Regions from separate parts of the Homo sapiens genome. Here region 1 is linked to region 2. Evidence: promoter capture Hi-C in 16 types of primary human blood cells and fetal thymus (Javierre and others, 2016). All regions are on one chromosome and are shown on one strand. The core of a region is centred on a gene start or on the middle of the fragment in contact, and the rest is flanking DNA. Distances in the headings are between cores, read along the strand shown.

Evidence for each region. Contacts are between HindIII fragments. The CHiCAGO score rates a contact against its expected background, and 5 or more counts as called.
Region 1: a contact is called between a fragment that was not itself captured here and the fragment with the promoter of MARK4 in region 2, in 1 of 17 cell types (M0 macrophages). The highest score is 6.6, in M0 macrophages.

The regions. Positions count from the first base shown.
Region 1 is chr19:44,966,111-44,972,675 of GRCh38, reverse strand. The region is part of intron 2 of CLPTM1 (CLPTM1 regulator of GABA type A receptor forward trafficking); the gene reads right to left. Among named protein-coding and RNA genes, the nearest start is that of CLPTM1, 14 kb to the right of the region's middle. The HindIII fragment of the contact is 617 bases long and covers 1,303-1,919 here.
Region 2 is chr19:45,249,418-45,255,276 of GRCh38, reverse strand. It overlaps MARK4 (microtubule affinity regulating kinase 4), which reads right to left and starts at 4,006. Exons shown (of 17, transcript NM_001199867.2): 1 at 3,638-4,006. The coding sequence starts at 3,688. RefSeq lists an enhancer at 2,542-3,098 and silencers at 3,572-3,721, 3,952-4,331. The HindIII fragment of the contact is 10,557 bases long and covers 2,533-5,859 here.

The DNA of each region.
Region 1 (6,565 bases), core at 362-2,861, 280 kb after region 2:
TAAAAGAAAAAAGAAATAAAGAAAAAATAATAAACATAAAATTTTTAAAAGAAAGAATCTGGAATCCTAGCGCTTCAAAAGCACAGAACCGGGGATGGTTAATGGCTACAAAAAATAGAATGAACGAGGACGGGCGCGGCGGCTCATGCCTGTAATCCCAGCACTTTGGGAGGCCAAGGCGGGCGGATCACGAGGTCAGGAGATTGAGACCATCCTGGCTAACATGGTGAAACCCTGTCTCTACTAAAAAATACAAAAAAATTAGCTGGGCATGGTGGCGGGCGCCTGTAGTCCCAGCTACTCCGGAGGCTGAGGCAGGAGAATGGTGTGAACCCAGGAGGCAGAGGTTGCAGTGAGCCAAGATCGCGCCACTGCACTCCAGCCTGGGCAACAGAGCGAGACTCCATCTCAAAAAAAAAAAGAATGAATGAGATCTAGTATTTGGTAGCAAAACACGGCAACTCTAGTCAATAGTAATTTAATTACACATTTTAAAATAACTTAAGAAGTATAGAGGCCAGGCACAGTGGCTCATGCCTGTAACTTTGGGAGGCTGAAGTGGGCAAATCACGAGGTCAAGAAATCGAGATCATCGTGGCCAACATGGTGAAACCCTGTCTCTACTAAAAATACAAAAATTAACTGGGCCTGGTGGTGCGTGCCTCTAGTCCCATCTACTTGGGAGGCTGAGGCAGGAGAATCACTTGAACCCGGGAGGCGTAGGTTGCAGTGAGCCGAGATTGCGCCACTGCCCTCCAGCCTTGCAACAGAGTGAGACTCCATCTCAAAAAAAAAAAAAAAAAAAAAAGTATAATTGGGTCAGGTGTAGCAGCTCATGCTTGTAATCCCAGCACTTTGGGAAGCTGAGGCAGGCGGATTGCTTGAGCTCAAAAGTTTGAGACCAGCCTGGGCAACATGATGAAATCCCGTCTCTACAAAAAATATAAAAATTAGCTGGGCATGGTGGCCCATGCCTGTAGTCCCAGCTACTTGGGGGACTGAGGTGAGAGAGTCACTTGAGCCCTGACGGTCAAGGCTGCAGTGAGACGTGATTGCGCCACTGCACTCCAGCCTGGGAGATAGAGAGCTTGTCCCAAAAAAATTAATCAATTAATTAATTAAATTTTTTAAAAAAGAAAAGGAAAAGAACCGAAGGCACAGAAGCTTAGAAAGAGCAACATTTCTGAACTTTTGGAGAATTTTTGGAGAAGCAGATAGTAAGTGATACGTTAGTTCCAATTTTAGTAACAGTGGGCTTAATTATTCAGACCAACCCTCTCACTGGAAAAAATTGGAAAAGCTTGATAAAATTAATACACTAAGAAAATATCAATATATTTTATATTTGTAATTATACATATTGATAGAATGAGAATATATGCTGCTCACGTATTCTCGTATTTGTTCTCATGCATGTAATTTTTATCAAGTTTACATATGAATATATATAAATAGACAGCTCTGAAGAATGGACACGACTGTAGGTTACCAAACCTTCAGGCAAAAACTGAAGGGAAAGTGGGAATCCTAAAGTAGTAAAGGATCGGCCGGGCGCGGTGGCTCAAGCCTGTAATCCCAGCACTTTGGGAGGCCGAGGTGGGTGGATCACCTGAGGTCAGGAGTTCAAGACCAGCCTGGCCAACATGGTGAAACCCCATCTCTACTAAAAATACAAAAATTAGCCAGGAGTGGTGGTGCATGCCTGTAATCCCAGCTATTCGGGAAGCTGGGGCAGGAGAATCGCTTGAACCCAGGAGAAGGAGGTTGCAGTGAACCGAGATCGTGCCATGGCACTCCAGCCTGGGCAACAAGAGCAAAAAGTCCATCTCAAGGAAAAAAAAAAAAAGAAGTAAAGGATCTTGGATTTGCAGGTCTAGGGGAAAAAAAAAAAAAGAATAAGTAAAGGAGCCCTATAAGCTTCTTCATGTGTCCGAGGACATCTGCTAGGTGTTTTGGTGGGTGACAAAAATGCTGGCCTAGGCTGGGCGCGGTGGCTCACACCTGTAACCCCAGCACGCTGGGAGGCTGAGGTAGGTGGATTGCTTGAGCCCAGGAGTTTGAGACCAGCCTGGGCAACACACAGTTTCTACAAAAAATACAAAAATTAGCCAGGCATGGCAGCACGCACCATGCCTATATTCCCAGCTACTCAGGAGGCTGAGGTGGGAGAATCACCTGAGCCCAGGAGGTCGAGGCTGCAGTGAACCACGATCATGCCACTGCACTCCAGCCTGGGCAACAGAGTGAGACCCTGTCTCAAAAAAAAAAAAAAAAATGCTAGCCCAGGGCACATACAACATATGAGGTAACCAGAGACCTACCCTATAGGAAACTAAGACCCCACAAGGTGCAAGCCTCCACCCCTGAGAAGGAAGGAACCAGGTGGCCTACCCATTCCCAGGAGTTGCACAACAGGTATGCAGGGCGAAGTATGCAAGGCCACTCGTGGGATAAGGAGTCACGAAGGGCAGCTCAAGCCCTGAACCTGGTGCAAGGAAACCTAGGACTTGGTAATGCCCCCAGGCAGAAGCAAAGGCAATCCTCTCTGTAGGAAAATATGCTCATCCTAGCCCTGAAATTCCTACAAATAACTTTTCAAGTATAATGACTAGGACACAGACAGAGATAAGCCAGGCACAAAAGGAAACGACATTATGAGCGAGAATCAGCAGCAACAACAGATACCAAAACCAAAACGAGGCTGGGCGTGGTGGCTTACACCTATAATCCCAGCACTTTGGGAAGCCAACACTTGAGGTCAGGAGTTCGAGACCAACCTGGCCAACATGGTGAAACCCCATCTCTACTAAAAATACAAAAATTAGCCGGGCGTGGTGGCGGGCGCCTGTAATCCCAGCTACTTGGTAGGCGGAGGCAAAAGAATCGCTTGAACCTGGGAGGTGGAGGTCGCAGTGAGCCGAGATCATGCCACTGGACTCCAGTCTGGGTGACAGAGTAAGACTCCATCTCAAAAAAAAAAAAAAAAAAGTGTCCTTAAAGAGAAGAAATATTCCTTCTTGATTTATTCTTCTCTCCTGTTGCCTGGAGTGTGGATGTGATGGCTGAATCTTCAGCAGCTGTCTTGGGCTATGAGGATAAAGGGAAAAACCTAGCAATGGCACAACAAACAGCAAGGAGTCTGGGTCACTGAAGACTGCAGAATCCTAGTCTGCCTCCATCCAGACTGGTATATCAGAGAGAAATGAACCTGTACTGTGTTAATGGAGGTTTCTCAGCTGCATGCAGCCATGTGATTAAATGATTCAAGTACTTATTAATTATAGGTATGATAACCATACAGCAGAAGAGGTTATGAGCCCAGCCTCTAAACTACAGTATCTTCATCTGAAGCCCAGCTCTGCTACTTACTGTGACCTCAGTGGTCAACTTCAATGGTTGAAATGGGGATAATAACAGTGCCTACTCTCATAGGGTAGTTTATAAGCATTAAACACATTAAATTATATATATGTTTATATAGCGTGTATATACATCTGACACACGCACACGTACCTCAGAATGGAGCCTGGTGCATACCCAGTAAGTGACTGAGAAGTGTTAGCTATTACTGTTATTTTAATCATAGGAAAAAGGCATACAAAAAACTTTGGAGCAGAAAAACACTATGAGTAAATTCTAGTGTGGGTGGGGTGCCTCCCTGCTGAGCCCTGATCAGGGGCAGGATCAGGCACAGGAACTTGCCTCTGCCTGTAGAAGCCACAAGGCCCTGGGGTCCAGGGTCTTAGGGGCCACGGTCCAGCTGAGCCATCGCTACCTCCCCATGAAGTCCCTGATATGCACGTCTGGGGAAGGTCTGGACCTGGCAATCTCTGGGGATACCGATGCCTCCAGCAGAGGCTCTCATTTTAGTAAACACACCAGGGGAGAGTGTAGAAGCAGTGATGCCCCCAGGCAGCTCTGCCCCTGGCTTAGTGTGTGGCTGTGGGGGTCCTAACCCCTCTGGGCTTCTAGATCCCCATGTATAAAACAAGGCCAGGCCTTTTTGGATTCCAGATCCCCAGTCCCCTGAAGAACGTCCTGTGTGTATCCACACGCCCACAGTTCTGTGGACCCTCTCAGAGGGCTCATGGCCATGGCCCCTCATCCATGCACCCAGGCCTGCAGGAGACTGGACCTTTCTAATGCTTCCTGATGTACTTGAGTAAGCAAAGAAAACAGACATTAAATCCTTTCTCCCACCCAAATAGGTATTCTACAGTCACAGGTTCAGAACATTTTTAAATATATGAAAAGACGTATAATCAAAACTCTCCCTCCCACCCCATTCCTTTATATACCCAGTTCCTGCTCCACCTCCCACTCCAGGTAACCACATGTGCTCAAAAACACAGACGCCACCCGCTATCTAGAAAGGCTATTCCCACATAATCAGCTTCAAGCTACAAGGAGTTCATGGGCCCCTGAAAACAAACCCTGGATCCCATTTTAAGAACTGCAGCCAAGATGGTCTCCGAGCACCCACCCGAACTGATGTTTGATGCTGCCTAGTTCTAAGAAAGGAAATTAGCCTACAGTGTGACTTGTATTAAAAATGTCTCTCTGAAGGAAGCTCCCTATGCACTGACGTGGAAAGATTTCAAAGATATATTGTTAATGAAAAAAATCAAGGAGCAGAACAGTGTGTAAAACAGGCTACCTCTTATGTAAAAATGAAGGGAAAGATAAAAATAATTTTCATGCAGAGCTGCTTGCAGCATGAAAAAAAAGAAGGTGATATATAAGAAAATCTGAAGTCTTTACGTGGCCATGGGGAGGGGAGGTGAAGTGGAGACGGTAAGGGACAGGGGCGCATGACTGAGAAGCGTAGGGCACATGGCAGGAATTTTTGAGGCACACATGTCAGTTTTGCAACTTAACAGAGTGGGGAGGTTTCTTTCCTGCAGTTTCTCAGTGTCCTGTGTGACACTCTTGGAGGACACCAGGCAGGCAGTTCTGCTCTAGTCTAGAATGTGATCAGTGACTACATCAGGGATCATGAGTTGTTTTTTTTTTTTTTTGGGACAGAGTTTCACTCTTGTTGCCCAGGCTGGAGTAAAATGGCATGATCTCGGCTCACTGCAACCTCCGCCTCCCGGGTTCAAGCGATTCTCCTGCCTCAGCCTCCTGAATAGCTGGGATTACAGGCATAAGCCGCCATGCCCGGCTAATTTTGTATTTTTTGCAGAGATGGGTTTCTCCATGTTGGTCAGGCTGGTCTGGAACTCCCGACCTCAGGTGATTCACCTACCTTGGTCTCCCAAAGTGCTGGGATTACAGGCGTGAGCCACTGCACCCGGCCTCATGAACTTTTTTTTTTCACTGTTTCACTATATATTTCCTAAGGTTTTTGTTTGTTTGAGATACAGTCTCACTCTGTTGCCTAGGCTGGAGTGCAGTAGTATCATCACGGCCCATTGCAGCCTTGACCTCCTGGGCTCAAGCGATCCTCCCTCTTCGGCCTCCCTAATAGCTGGCACTACAGGTGTGCGCCATCACACCCAGCTAATTTTTTAGTTTTTTACAGAGATGGGGTCAGGATAGGCGCGGTGGCTCACGCCTGTAATCCCAGCACTTTGGGAGCCCGAGGTGCGTGGATAGCGAGGTCAGGAGATCGAGACTATCCTGGCTAACACGATGAAACCCTGTCTCTACTAAAAATACAAAAAATTAGCCGGGCGCTGTGGCGGGCGCCTGTAGTCCCAGCTACTCGGGAGGCTGAGGCAGGAGAATGGCGTGAACCTAGGAGGCGGAGCTTGCAGTGAGCCGAGATCGCGCCACTGCACTCCAGCCTGGGCGACGGAGCGAGATTCTGTCTCCCAAAAAAAAGAGAGAGAGAGAGAGAGATGGGGGTCTTACTGTGTTGCTCAGGCTTTTTTTTTTTCCACGTTGAACAACAAAAGGAATCATGGCCAACATTGTCTGTGTGCGTGCCAGCTCCTGCACCCCTCAGTTGACATGAATTCTCTTGGAATCCTTCTGATGCACCCTGAGCTAATTGTCAAGATTCCCTGTCTGTGAGGTGGAAAATGAGGCTCAAGAAGGGTGATAACCTGACCAGGCCACAGAGCTCAGAGGTGGCAGGGCTGAGATGTCAGCAGGGCTGTGCTCTTACACGCTATCTGACACTACCTGCCCCCCGCCTCCTAACTTTTCTCTATTTTAAACAACTCTATCTGTGAGCATCTATATATAATCCCATTTAGGGCCAATTACAAAAATGTGTGCCTATGGGATGGCCACCAACACATTACACTTTTTTATTTTTGAGACTGTGTCTCGCTCTGTCACCCAGGCTGGAGTGCAGTGGCGGCATCTTGGCACACTGCAAGCTCCGCCTCCTAGGTTCACGCCATCCTCCTGCCTCAGCCTCCCGAGTAGCTGGGACTATAGGCGCCTGCCACCATGCCCGGCTAATTTTTTATATTTTTAGTAGAGATGCAGTTTCACTGTGTTAGCCAGGATGGTCTCGATCTCCTAACCTCGTGATCCACCCACCTCGGCCTCCCAAAGTGCTGGGATTACAGGCGTGAGCCACCGCGCCCGGCCCACATTACACTTTTTCATT
Region 2 (5,859 bases), core at 2,757-5,256:
TTCCACCAGACTTGATGCTCTTCTCTGTCACAATACCACACTGCCTCTCACACCTGAACCTTTTTTTTTTTTTTGAGACAGGGCCTTGCTCTGTTACCCAGGCTGAAGTGCAGTGGTGTAATCAAGGCTCACTGGAGCCTCAACTGCCTGGGTTCAAGCAAATCCTCCCATCTCAGGCTCCTGAGTAGCTGGGACCACAGGAGTGCACCACCACACACAGCTGATTTTTAAATTTTTTTGTAGAGATGGAGTCTTGCTATGTTGTCCGGGCTAGTCTTCAGCTCCCAGGCTCAAGCCATCCTCCTGCCTGGGTCTCCCAAAGTTCTGGGATTATAGGTGTGAGCTACCACGCTGGGTCATGAACCATTTCTACAAAGCAGCTCATGCTATGGACCAAGTCCTGTGTAAACAGGTAACTCGCCTACACTTAATTCCTGCAGTAGCCCAGGGAATGACTCCATGTTCCAGCAGAGAAACTGAGCCTTGGAGAGGGAAGGTGCCATGTGAAGGTCACACAGTCCATTCACAGGGGCAGAAAGACAACCTCCCCACAGCTGGGCAGTTCCAACCACCACGGCCAGGGCTCTAACCACGCGTCCGCCACTGCCTGCCGTGCCCTCACCCTGGCCTCCAATGTGGGTCCAATTATGATCTGCAGTCTTCAGACGGGGACACCCAGGCTCAGGCAGGGGGAGTCCCTCCCCCAAGGTCACAGGGCAGATGGAGCAGAGTGCTGGGATGCGAACCCCGGCCTGCTGATTCCTCCTGAGTGCTGAGCCAGGCTTCCCCACAGGCCCAGGCTTCTTCCCAGGAGAGACCAGGGAGGCAGGTGGAGATCCTGGAGATAAGGCCTCCGATCCCCACCAAGATAAGGACCTGGAGAAGAAGCCCTGTCAGGTGGCGCCAGGGCAGCCAGCTGGAGGTGGGATGGCACCACGCTGAAGGCAGCATGGCTGAGGGACCCCTGCGAGGGGCAGCTGGGGCAGTGGGTGACAAAGCCCCTGGGGGCCGGGGGTGGGAGCTAAAATTGGCCTGCACCACCAGCTGGCCTGGCTCCCTCCCGCCCGGCTGGCGCCCCAACACCCGGGACTGTTGCTAGGGAACCTGGGGAGGCTGGCCCCCTGGTGGGGGGCCCTGGAACTTGGGGTGGGGGAGCATGACCCCACGTGGCTGTAGCCATGGTAACCAGGTAACAGGAGAGGGGGCTGCAACCTCCCATTCCAGAGGCAGGCAAGTGACTCCCCACCAGGACTGACAGGCAGGTCTTAGTGACAAGAGTTGGAGGAGAGAAAAGGGGATTAGCCATCCTCAAATCCGCACCATGCACGCATCTTAACAACCCAGGGAACAGCAAGTCTTCATTAGGCGTTCCACTTAACAGACAAGGAAACCAAGGCTCAGAGAGGTAAGGTTACTTGCCCGAGGTCACACAGCTAGGGAGGGACAGAAACAGGATGTGAACCCAAGTTTATCTGAACAATTAAAGTAGTGCTAATAACCACAACAGCCACGACACATGCCAGGCCCTGTGCACCTTAGTCACATCACGTCGCTGGCTCCTGCAAACATCCCTAACAGTGGGGGGCCATCATCAACCCGATTTAGAGATAAGGAAACTGAGGCTGCAAGCTGGGAGTGAATCTGCAGGCTCACTCAACAACCAATAACAGCCCTGAGCTGAGAATCCACGGGCTGTCTGACTCATACCCACAGCCACAATAGCAGCTGGCATTTGTGGAGTGCTTCCTAGGTGCCAGCCTTCGCCTGAATCGAGTAAGCCTTGGAGGCACTCAAGCGGTCACCCCTATTTTCCAGGGCAGGAAACTGAGGCTCAGAAAGGGAGAACTGGTTGTCTGAGGACACAAGGCAAACCAGCTGGCCATGTCAGCATTGGAACCCAGGACTGTGGAGCCCCTGGCACCTCACTGTAGATTGTAGTGACCAAGGAACAGAGGTGGTAGGCATTTCATTAGACTCCAAATTGGAGTTCTGGCCCATAGTGATGATGCGGGGTGGTCTCTGTGAGGGAGGGATCTGCAAGATGAGGAAGGGACAGATATAAATCTCTCTGATGGTGTGTGTGTGTGGGGGGGTCTGTCGGAGGTGAGGGAAACAGGGGGAAGGGGAACAGGGACCTGGCAGAAGGATTTGGAGAAAGCCACAAAGATCCCAGGTGGGGAGAAGTCTAGGATTGGGTGGTGGGCAGGTCTTTGGAAGTGATCAGTGATCAGAGACACAGGAGATGGGGAGGGGCCTCTCTGGGAAGCAGTGTAGGGGCAGGGGGCGCCTGGGAATGGTGGAAAGTGACAAAGCCATGGGGGCAGTGGAAGTCAGAGGCCAGGAATCCCTGGGTCTTGGGGAAGCTCCTAGGAATCAGAGAAGGGGGCTTCTAGGAGAAGTCCTTGAAACCAGAGAAGGGTCTGGGGGGCCTGGAAGTATGGGGTAGGAACTTCTTGGGCAAGGAGCAGCCCAGATGAATAAAGGCTGAGCCCTGGGGAAGGTCAAGGGGTCTAGAAATTTGGGGAGAAAGCTTCCAGCAGATTGACCCAAGGGAAAAGGGCTTGAAACCAGGGCAAGACGAGAGGCTTCAGGTCCAGGAGTTTTCTGGAAGAAGGATCTGGGGCCAGGCCCTGTAGCTGAGGAAGGCCTCTGAAGCTGAGGAGGGGGCTTCCTTGGAAGGCCAGACTCCCAGCAAGGAAGGGGGAGGCCCTGGGGCAGGAGAAAGGACGGTGGTTTGTGGGGAAGGGGTCTGAGTTTGGCCTAGCAGGGGGTCCAGAGGTTGGGGGTTGGGGAAGGGGCTGCCTGAAGCTGAGAAGTTGATAGAGGGCGGATGAGGCCTGGAGTCAGACTGGTCCAGGGCCTAGAAATACCAGCCTGGGTGAGGTGAGGGCCTAGAAGTTGGAGGCCAAGGCTTCCTGGGAGAGGAAGAGACCAGAAAGGGTCCAGGTGGCATCTGGGGGCCCCGGGGTGCTGGGATCTAGGGACAGGGCTGCTTGGAAGATGGGGACCAGGCCTGGGACGGGAGAGACCTTGAAGAAGCCAGAAAAGGGCCGGGGCCCAGGAGAGGTGGAAACCAGCTTCCTGCCAGGGGCTGCCCACAGGCGCCCTGGGTGCGTCCTGGAGGGGCAGAGGGCTGGGAATAAGAGGAGGGGGGCTCCTGGGGAGCCGGCACCCAGCCCCAGACAGGGAAGGCCGGAGCCAGAGGCAGGACTGGGCCAGGCCCTGCTGAGAGTGCCAGGGCCGGGCCTTGGGGGGTCAGGGGCCCTGCAAATCCGGGAGGGGGCGAGGTGTCGGACGCGGACGGCCTGGAGGGGAAACGGCTTAGCACAGGCAAGAGAAGGGAGGGGCTCCTGGAAGCAGGGGAAGGGGCTTCCTGGAGGGAACAGACCCGAGCGGAAGCGGTCTGCACGGGGACAAGAGAGGGGTCCCGAGAGAGGGGCGCCCCCAGGGGTCGGGCTGGGCTGGAAAAGGTGGGGAGGGTGGAGAGGCCTGGAAGTCCGGGAGGGGTCGAGAGGTGACGAGCCGGGTCGGGCCCAGGAAACGAGGGTAGGGGCTCGCGGGGCGAGGGGTACAACGGGGAGAAGGGTTTGGCGGCTGGACCCAGCCAGGGCTCCCCAAGGGGCCGGGCCCCACTCACCGTGTCCGAGTTCCGATCGTTGCCCGGGGCCAGCACCGTCCGCGAAGACATCTTCTCCGGGTCCCGGGGGGCAGGGGCGGCCGGGTGGGGGGGGCGGGGGTCCCAGGGTCCCCTCTCTTCCCCTCCCCCCCCGCCGGCCTGGGGACGCGAGCTCAAAAGCTGGGCGCCGAGAACGCCCGGGTCCGCGCGGCGGGAGAGGGGGCAGGGCGGGGGAGGGGAAGGGACGCCGAGGGTCCTAGTGGCCCCGTGCAGCGGGGACCCCGGGCGCCATGGGGGCGGCGGGCAGGCGGGCGGGCGGGGGCCGCGGAGGGGGCGCGGAGCCGGCCCAAGCGGCGGCGGAGGGAGGCGGTGGAGGGGCTGGGGAGGGAGGAAGGGACGTCAGGGGGAGGGGCGGGCAGGGCGGGGCGCCGGGACCCCGCCCCCCGCCGCCGGCCCTTAAAGGCGCAGGCCCGGGCTGGTCGGGGCGCCGGGGGCTCCGGGGGCTCCGGGGGCGGAGGCGGGTCTGGGCACGCCGGCGGGGAGCGTGTTCTCGCCCGAGACGAGAGGCGCACTGGAGAGGAGAGAAGGGGAGAGAGAGGCCGGGGCAGAGCGCCAGAGACGCAGAGAGAGAGATCGAGAGACGTAGAGATAGAGAGACACGAAGAGAGAGAGACGAGTTACAAAAGGGTGGAGAGGCGCAAGGAGATGAAGGAAGAGCCAGATGACAGAGAGAGAGAGACGCAGGGAGACAGAGACAGAGAGACCCAGAGACGCAGAGGGACAAAGACTGAGAGAGACCCCACACACACACAGGGAGAGACAAAGAGATACAGAGACGCAGAGATCTGTGAAGAGATAGAGATAAAGGGACTGAGCCAGAGAAGACCCCAGAGGCGCTGCCCACATTGTCCCTCCCCCTGGCCCATTCTCTCCCCAGTTGGCGGGGGGGAGCGGGGGAAGCTCTCCCCTCGGAGGCCTAAGGGTGGGGTGGGTGAAGGGGATGGTGTGCGGGGCTTGGCCACTGCTGAGGGCTCAGTGACCTCCCTAGTCAGGCTGCCTCCACTCAGCCACATAGATCCAGACCCGCAGGTTGGGGCTGCAGCATCCACTCCTTTGCACCCCAGCTGGGGTGTGGGGACCCTCTCTGTCCACCTGTATGACCCGGGGCAAGCACTTGCCCTTTCTGGGCTTCACTTTCCCAGTTTGTAAAGTGAAAGGAAGAATCCGTGTGTTGCTCACTGGCAGGTGCGAAGGAACCCTGTGCAGGTATTCGCCTGCAGGGCACAGCCACTCCCCATGCGGGCAGGCTGAGACCAGAGAGGACAAGAGCCTCTCGGAGGCCACACAGCGCTGTGGGGACCATCCATGCTCTGTGGACCAGGGTGGGATGAAAGAAAGACAGGCATTACATAGTCTTGGCCTGGGAGTCACATGGTTTTGGGAAGGGGTCTGTGCCCTGCCTTCTTCTATCTGAGGCTTATTTTCCTGAGCCTCAGTTTCCCCTTCTAAAACAGCAGTGTGCTGGATCTGGCTGGAGCGAGCTGATTGTTATGTCTCAGGAATTTTGGAACTGGTTGTTAAACACAGCCATTATTAAAAATTAAATTATGCAAACATACAATTAAATTACATTAAAGGTACAAGTAATACATACTCATCACGTCCTAGTTATCTTACTACATTTGCCATTATCTGTGATCTTGAGGTTACCTACGTCTATTGTAGCTGCACAGTAAAATTACTATATAATGGGGGGCAAAAATGCCATGTGATATCACCTTGGTAGCTTGAAATTAGCCATGGTGGGAATATTTACACCATGGAAATTGGCAAATGCTACAAATTAAGGCTCCACACCCCCACCTGCAGAGAGCTGGGGGTGTTTTGTTTTGCTTTGCTTTGTTTTGTTTTTGAGACAGGGTCTCACTGCATTACCCAGGCTAGAGTGCAGTGGCACGATTATGGCTCACCGCAGCCTGGACATCCCCGGCTCAAGCAATCCTCCCAGCTCAGCCCCACCAAGTCACTGGGACTACAGGTGTGCACCACCACGCCCAGCTAATTTTTTGTAGCCATATTGCCCAGGCTGATCTCCAACTCTCAGGCTCAGGCGATCCTCCCACTTCGGCCTCCTAAAGTGCTGGGACTACCCTGCACTCAGCCAAAAGCTGGTTGTGAAAGCACAGCACTGCTTGATACTATGAGCAACACAGACTCATGGCAGTTGCCCTTGTGCCAGGCTC